Regions from separate parts of the Homo sapiens genome. Here region 1 is linked to region 2. Evidence: promoter capture Hi-C in 16 types of primary human blood cells and fetal thymus (Javierre and others, 2016). All regions are on one chromosome and are shown on one strand. The core of a region is centred on a gene start or on the middle of the fragment in contact, and the rest is flanking DNA. Distances in the headings are between cores, read along the strand shown.

Region 1 (3,900 bases), core at 1,396-3,895, 110 kb before region 2:
CCCCAAATTATAGCAATCTTCCCAATTGTTGGCATGTTTATCTCCCCTCCAGACTATAAACTCCCTGAGGGCAGAAGTCGTCTTGTATTCCTTTTTCTTCTTTTTCTTCTTCTGTATTCCCGGCTTCTAGCATGGTGCCTGGCACCATGTGTATAAGATGCACTTTAAATGACTGATGAACAAATATATTTTGTGAAGCTATGGATGGATGTGCTGTGGAGATGGATGAGAGTTTATAGTGAGGTCTATGGAAAACTTATTACGGACCATGGGGTAATATTCATTTGCCTCACTTTGACCTAGAATATCCCTCCTTCATCCTGAGCCTCCTCCCAACACCCAGAGCAGCCCTACTGTTGCCTCTCCAGATCAGATAGCTCTGGAAACTGAAGATGCTCAAGCCCAGCATCTGCAGAAGGCCCCAGAAATTCAACAAGGAATCCTAGCAGCACCTCTCAGGGACCTCATCCACACTAGAAAAGCTAGTAGTAGGGGAGGGAATGGGGCCTCTCCAGCTAAAATCTCTGAGCAGCCAGGGCTTCTCTACCTGTTAAAATCTAATGACTCAGGGTGCAGGTTAGTTCCTCTCTGGGGTCTGGAGGAACTCACTCTGGAGAAGTGCAGAGGGAGGCTGTGGAAAGCAAAGTGCTTCCTATGTGTATGAGAGAAGGGTGCCTGCCTATATGAGTGTATGTGTCTATGTGAGTCTCCAGAAGAGTCAATACCGTCTGCAAAACCCTCGCATTTCAGGGCTTGAGAGGCTCCCTTTTTTCAGAAAACATCTACTTGGGAGCCCAGAGTTTCTGACCTCAATCTTATTCCCTATACTCTGGGGCTCTGTGAGACCCCACTCCTAATCCCAAAGGACACCTTCTGCAGTACAGTGTAGTCCTCGTCTCTGGCCCACCTGTTCCTGGCCTCAGCTCCACGGTGCAGTAGCCTTCAATCCACTGATAGCAGGGGAAGTGGGATACACTACCATCCGGTTCGGTGACACAGATGCGGCTACAGTACCAAGAGTCCTTGCGGAAGAAAGCGTAGCGCTCCTTGTGTACACGCAGCAGCAAGAGCTCACCCAGCTCCGCTGTGCAACGCACCTTGTACTTCTGTACCTGAGGGGACCAAGACAGCAAGCAGGTGAGAGGCGGGGAACTGCCAAGGCGGTCCTTGCGCCTTGCAAGATGCATCTACACCTAAGCCTATTCGGGCATACAAACCTGAGCTGCTCCCAGCCCATACCGGGCTTTTGTATGAATTAGAAAAAGCTTCCCCGGGCCGGGAGAGGTGGCTCACGCCTGTAATCCTAACACTTTGGGAGGCCGAGGCGGGTGGATCACCTGAGGTCAGGAGTTTGAGACCAGCCTGCCCGATGAAACCGCTTCTCTACTAAAAATACAAAAAATTAGTCGGGCGTCGTGGCAGGCGCCTGTAATCCCAGCTACTTGGGAGGCTGAGGCAGGAGAATCGCTTAAACCCGGGAGGTGGAGGTTGCAGTGACCTGAGATCACACCACTGCCCTCCAGCCTGGGCAACAAGAGCAAAACTCCATCTCAAAAAGAAAAGAAAAAGGTGCCCGAGCACAGTGGGCACTGCATTTCACTAGCTTCCTAGGCCGGCTGGGAACTCTTGTGGAGGCCACCTGGGGCTGGCAGAGGCAGGCAGATCCCCTCGATAAGAGGAAACCCAGGCTCAGAGAGGGGAAGCGACTTGCCCAAAGCCCACGGTCAATTATGGGAGGAGTTTAGGAGCCAGGGGAAGTCCCTCTACTCCCTGTCCAACGCTCCTTCCTCTCCACAGTCCTGCCTGGATGGAGTTCATCATCTCCAGGAAAGACAGGGACCTCAATAGGGAAGGTGAGGAGGTCAGGGCCGGTATCCTGAGTTCAGCAGGATCTCAAGAGTCCAGGAGGAATACTCCTCCCGCCTGCGGCCCCTGCCCCTCTGAGGTCGCGCTTCCCTGTCTCCTTTGTACTCACCGATCCAGGGGCGAAGTCCCTGCCCATTCGATCTAGCCGCTGCTTGGGGCTTTCACCACACGTGCCCACCAGTGTGACAGAGATGTTGTCCAGTGTGCCGGCCCTCAGGTAGGGACCAGTGGTCACACACAGGCGGTACACTGCCATGATGGGAAGGAGGAAGGGATGCCCCGGCAACGCTGGCCGCAGCAGCAGCCGGCCTGGAGGAGAAGAGCGGCACGCCGGACAGGGCTGGGTTTCTGGGCGGAGGGCTAGGGGCTGCGGGGCTGGGTAGGGCTGAGGATGGGCCCAGCTCTCTCTGGGATGTTCCTGGGCTTTCTCTCTCCGAAGCTCCCTGCTGGCGGCTCGGGCTTCCTCTCTCCGCCCACAGTCTTGCACTCTAATACTTGTTTGCTTGCCTCTGACACAGCCGGTCCCTCTGGCTGGCTCACCCAGATGGATATCAGGAGCCTGGGTTCCACTGCGGAGGGAGGGATCAGATGCTGAGATGGAGAAAAGGAGGTAACGCCTGTATAATTGGGACACTGCCCTCCGCCTGGTCAGCGGCCCGGACTGATGCCCTGGAGTGCTTGTCCGCCCACTCCCCAATGTCCCCCAAGATCTGTTCCTCCCCATTCCCAGGCAGAGATGAGCACAGGGCACCTGCATTCCTACGTGTGAATCATCCGTGTGAATCACTAAACAGTGGAGAGTTGCACTTGGTCATAAATCACACGTGACTGCAGCCACACGCAGGTGAGTCGCACACGCATTCCAGCACATGTCAAATGGTCAGGAACAGCTCCCTGTCACCCCATACACCGATCCCCCCACGCATGGCCCTCTTTGTCCCCAGCCTTTGGCACGCCCGACCTCATTCTCTGCTCTGGAGTAGGGCAGGTCAGGAAAGCGAAATACAGCGCCGGCAAACAGGGTCTGAATGCCCCGCGTGGCATTCTTTCCGCTCCAGGACCGCCCTGGGCCTGCAGGATCCTGGGCGGGAGCCCAGGTGTCCGGGATCTGGGCCACTAGGGACTGGGGAGGAACCTCTCAGAGAAGCCCATAGCCCGCAGCGGCCCCGCGCGGCCGGTTCCGGCGCCGCACTGTTCCAGCCTCTACTATGGTACAGTCCCTGCGTCGCAGCCTCGGCGGGGGCTCTAAGAACGGGAGGCAGAAAAAGCTCAATCAGCAGCAGGCGAGCTTCACCCGCTGCTTCCAAATCTGTGCCAAAATATTCTATGCTGCACAGATAAAATCCTCTGTCGGTTCTACAAGCCTGGCTTTTCCTATAGAGAACCCTCTTATAAGCAAAAAGTAAAGCTCTCGTGAAGAGCCCGGATAGCTCAGTCGGTAGAGCATCAGACTTTTAATCTGAGGGTCCAGGGTTCAAGTCCCTGTTCGGGCGGCATGTCTTTGCTTTTGGGTACCGCACTTCGCATAAAATGGTAACAAAAATAGTTACTAGTTTTTAAAGCTAGGTGATACAGAAACTTGATTTCCACAAAATACAGCAAACGACGGTGGAGGGTAATAAACATACTTTAAAACAGTACAAACGCGAGCCGTATTATCGAATTTACATTTTCTGGTAGCCACATTACAAAGAATAAAAAGCAAGCGAAATTAATTTCACGGATCTATTTTACTTACCCTAATATACCAAAATCTTATTTTAACATATAATCAACATTCTAAAAATATTAATGAAATTTTAAGTCTTTTTGTTTGTACAAAGCCTTCCTTCAAAAGAAGATGTGTATTTAGAAGCTGGCAATACATCTGAATTCATATATTTCAAGTGCTCGATAACGGTGTCTACCATATCCAACAGCAGACTTTGTTTTGTTTTCGTTTTAAGTGACGGGTGTGGAAGACACGCAAAATAGAATGTCCAGTAATGTACACAATCTTGAAAGACACCACGAGGGAGGTTCCATGGTGTAATG
Region 2 (3,841 bases), core at 1,163-3,662:
GTGTTTTTTCCCCCCCCCGCCTTTTCCTTTTCGTGTTTTCTGGGCCCCAGCATCGTTGAGGGTTTTCGTGAGGTTTTCCTGAGGAAACTTCCGCTCCGAAAGGACCCACTTTCCGCTACACCCGCGACCACGGCTGGACCACCGCGCTCCTGACGGATGCGCCCTGCAAGCCCCTCCAGGCGAGAGCAGCGCGTCGGAATCTCGGCCCGGGGTTGCCTACTGTTCCCGGATCGCAGTGCGAATCCACAAAAAGCAGGGAGGCGAAAGGAAACAAAAGCCCGGGCTCTGCACCCTGGACGGCTGGGGGCCAAAGCTACTTGCCCAGGTTCAAGCAGAGACTGGAAATGCGCACTTCCGTCAAGGAGGGAGCAAGCTAGGCCAAGTCTGAGCGCTAATGAGCATACTGAGCAGAGCAGATAATGGCCACTTTAGGTACACGTTTGAACTCTAAGTTGCTTGAAGTAAAATGGAAACTTAGAATGCGAGCTGGAGAGGAAGGCCAAACTCTCCTCCCCTCCTCCTTTCCCTCTTTTTTATAGCTCCATCCCAGGGACCAGGACGGATTTAATGAAAGCAAAAAGATAGAAGTTTCAAAACTGCTAGTACTCTCCCCGTCGGGGAATCGAACCCCGGTCTCCCGCGTGACAGGCGGGGATACTCACCACTATACTAACGAGGAGGGACCTGTAGAGACCTTTCTCCGAATCCTTGATCTGAGACTTTACACTCTGCGTGCTGACAGCAGGGTTCCTAGGGGTTCTGTTCTTCCAACCACTGATAAACGCTGACCAGAAACCGTAGGTGTATTTCAGGCACCAATCGTCAGATGGAGTGACCGAAAGAGACAGAGTGCCTTCAGGACTGCAGAGAACCAAGTTTTGACAGTTCCTGGGCTCTCCCGAACACTGTCATCCACAACTATAGATTGACGCGTGTCAATCAAAGCGAAACCAGGCTGTGGTGGCCGAGTTGAGACACCAGGAAGGAAGTCAGGAAGCAGAAAGGGAGGGACCTGCCCAAGTCTGGGCGTGCCTCGTCTCTTCCTGACATGCCAGGCGGGTCTGGGGATTGAGATGCTTTCTGCTACCGCGGTGCCACAAAAGAGCTTACTGTACATTGATGACTTACAGTCAAGCCTCCTGCAGCGCTGGTCAGGTAACCTATTCCTTGAAGACACTCTTGTCTCAGTAAAAGGTAAAGGAGGGCTCGTCCGGGATTTGAACCCGGGACCTCTCGCACCCGAAGCGAGAATCATACCCCTAGACCAACGAGCCGACGTGCGGACGTTGCCGCGAACCGCCTTAGAGGTCGTGCCAGGCTTGCTGTAGTGCTGGGTCCACTATGCATGGCGGAACGGTCCGGGCGCACGCTCACGGACCAGCCTCCCCCAGGCCGAGTATTTTGGAGCACTGGGCTGGGAATCTCTTGGCTCCGGGCCGCGAGCTCCGGCTCCTCCCAGGAAATAGCGTCAAGGAAGTGGGAGGGAGTGGCCTCGGCCTCGCCCCCGCGCCGCCTTGCACGACTGCCTTGAACACCCGGGTTGTTGCTTCCTTTGGTTACCGACTTGGTGCCATTCCGTAACCTGGGATCTTGACACTTCCTGCCTCCGCCTGCGGTCCTTGGACCTAGCTCTTCGTTGCAGAGCTTTGAAGAGAAGCGGTGGAATTGCTTGCTTTCGGGACGGGCAGGAGAAATCACTAGGGGAACACCAGTGCCCCGTGTCTGTCTATCCTCCTGGGCTAACGGGCAGGGCAAACCCTGGGCCAGACCCATCGATAGTCCACGGGTTCCCCAGACCGCATGGCAGTACCCAAGCGAGGGAAAGAGGGAACGATTTCTGGGGCCCAGAAGACCCACGGAAGAGGGCGTTATTGAGCTGGGTGACTGGAGGGGGACAGGCTTTCCACCCTGCAGTGGGGCGGGGCGCAAGGCCAGGCGACTAGTCTCATGGCTTCCGGACTGTAAGATCAGGTTACCCCTACCCTACAGTCTAACCTCTGCTCCCCAGTCCCCTCCTAGAATGGCCTAGAAGGGAGACCCTCCTGCCTGCCTCCTAAGACCCCCCGAAGGCTCTGAGGCACGTGGCCGCATGAATGTGGTCGAAGGCCTGTAGACCCGGTTTGGGGACTTAGCAGTGTCCCCGGGACTGCCCAGTGAGCCTCTGCGCTCTTAAACACTCACCATGCTGCTCTTACTCCGGAGCTGCCCAGAGTCCCAGCAAGATCTGGTGGGGTCGGTAGCAGACCACGTGTCCTGCCTTTCCTCAGCTCAGTGCCTGTTCTGGGGAGTCCTCCCAGCGGGGTTCTGGCCTGCATCGGCCCTGGACCAGCCTGGTGTCATCTGTGGAACCATTTTGTTCTACACCCCAGTTGTGTGATTTGTGGGGCCAGGCCGTTCCTAATGCCCAACCCATAGATACGATGACGGGGCTTTCAGTGAAGGATTCAGCTCCTATTTGTCTTTCCCAGGTTCCCCTGGACAGACAGTGGGGAAGGGCAGCAGAAGTTAGCCCAGCCTTTCCCATTAGTGTCCCAAGTCTTTGAGATGGGTAAAGAGGTTCTCAGGGCTGATCTGGCATCTCCTCCCCCATTCCTACCCTTTTCCAATTCCTGTCTCCCTCCCCTTGGGCCCCAGCTTTCTCTGCAAAATAATCCAGTCACCTCTTCCCTGGCCTCAGGCACTTAAACGCTGCAGAAGGGGAGGCCTAAATCCTTTATGACCCTTATGAAAGCTATGTCCCTCTTCACCGGGCACAGTGGCTCACACCTGTAATCCCAGCACTTTGGGAGGCTGAGGTGGGTGGATCACAAGGTCAGGAGTTCAAGACCAGCCTGACCAAAATGGTGAAACCCCGTCTCTACTAAATATACAAAAATTAGCCAGGCGTGGTGGCGGGCGCCTGTAATCCCAGCTACTCGGGAGACTGAGGCAGGAGAATTGCTTGAACCCGGGAAGCGGAGGTTGCAGTGAGTCAATATTGTGCCATTGCACTCCAGCCTGGGTGACAGAATGAGACTCCCTCCGTCTCAAAAAAAAAAAAAAAAAAAAAAAGCTATGGCCCTCTTCCTAAACATGTATACAATCCAGGGAGTTCACACATAATCCCATCCACATACCCCACACTTTATTTTTTCCTCAGAAAAGTGCGTACATAGACCCCACTTTTAATAACCAAGAACTAACAAACAGCTGATCATTCGTTTATTTTATTTCATTTTTTTGAGACGGAGTTTCACTCTTGTTGCCCAGGCTGGGATGCAGTGGCGCGATCTCGGCTGACAACACCTCCTCCCCCCTCCAAGGTTGAAGCGATTCTCTTGCCTCAGCCTCCCAAGTAGCTAGGACTGCAGGCGCCTGCCACCACGCCTGGCTAATTTTTTGCATTTTTAGTAGAGACGAGGTTTCACTATGTTACCAGGTTTCACTATGTTGGCCAGGCTGCTGGTCTGGAACTCCTGACCTCGTGATCCGCCCACCTTGGCCTCCCAAAGCGCTGGGATTACAGGCGTGAGCCACCGCGCCCGGCCATACATGGCAAGTTTCTACATGGTGTTTCAGACTTAGCTGATCACCCTCTACCCTCAGGCCAGATTAGATTCCACTTCTCCCTGTTCTTACAGTGCCGTTAGTGCTGAAAGGGGAACGTGCCTTGTTCATTTGGTTCTGCACAGGGTCCAGCCCAGTGCTTGGCACAAACGTGGTCTCGGCAGTGCTGCATCCCTGGCTTGACCTGGAGGTAGCAATTCCTTCAAGCCATTTGCTCATCTTACATTGGTTCGTGGGCCATGGAATGGTGTCGAGAGCTTTCTGCCTATCTTCCAAGGAGGTTTAGGTCCTGCCA

Evidence for each region. Contacts are between HindIII fragments. The CHiCAGO score rates a contact against its expected background, and 5 or more counts as called.
Region 1: a contact is called between the fragment with the promoter of ALOXE3 here and the fragment with the promoter of LINC00324 in region 2, in 14 of 17 cell types (non-activated CD4 T cells, naive CD8 T cells, fetal thymus and 11 more). The highest score is 14.0, in non-activated CD4 T cells.

What each region holds. Positions count from the first base shown.
Region 1 is chr17:8,115,869-8,119,768 of GRCh38, forward strand. It overlaps ALOXE3 (arachidonate epidermal lipoxygenase 3), which reads right to left and starts at 2,646. Exons shown (of 16, transcript NM_021628.3): 1 at 2,618-2,646; 2 at 1,976-2,435; 3 at 908-1,112. The coding sequence starts at 2,122. TRK-TTT3-5 (tRNA-Lys (anticodon TTT) 3-5) reads left to right here and starts at 3,287; the gene lies at 3,287-3,359. It overlaps TRQ-CTG1-5 (tRNA-Gln (anticodon CTG) 1-5), which reads left to right and starts at 3,884; the gene lies at 3,884-3,900. RefSeq lists enhancers at 1,812-3,011, 2,733-2,812, 2,893-2,962, 3,113-3,212 and a silencer at 3,733-3,782. The HindIII fragment of the contact is 2,695 bases long and covers 1,264-3,900 here.
Region 2 is chr17:8,221,631-8,225,471 of GRCh38, forward strand. It overlaps LINC00324 (long intergenic non-protein coding RNA 324), which reads right to left and starts at 2,413. Exons shown (of 3, transcript NR_026951.1): 1 at 2,182-2,413; 2 at 663-1,644. It overlaps CTC1 (CST telomere replication complex component 1), which reads right to left. Exons shown (of 23, transcript NM_025099.6): 23 at 3,185-3,841. TRP-CGG1-3 (tRNA-Pro (anticodon CGG) 1-3) reads right to left here and starts at 1,274; the gene lies at 1,203-1,274. TRD-GTC2-11 (tRNA-Asp (anticodon GTC) 2-11) reads right to left here and starts at 679; the gene lies at 608-679. RefSeq lists enhancers at 247-386, 767-966, 1,289-2,030, 1,577-1,706, 1,957-2,196 and silencers at 647-716, 1,177-1,226. The HindIII fragment of the contact is 13,535 bases long and covers 1-3,841 here.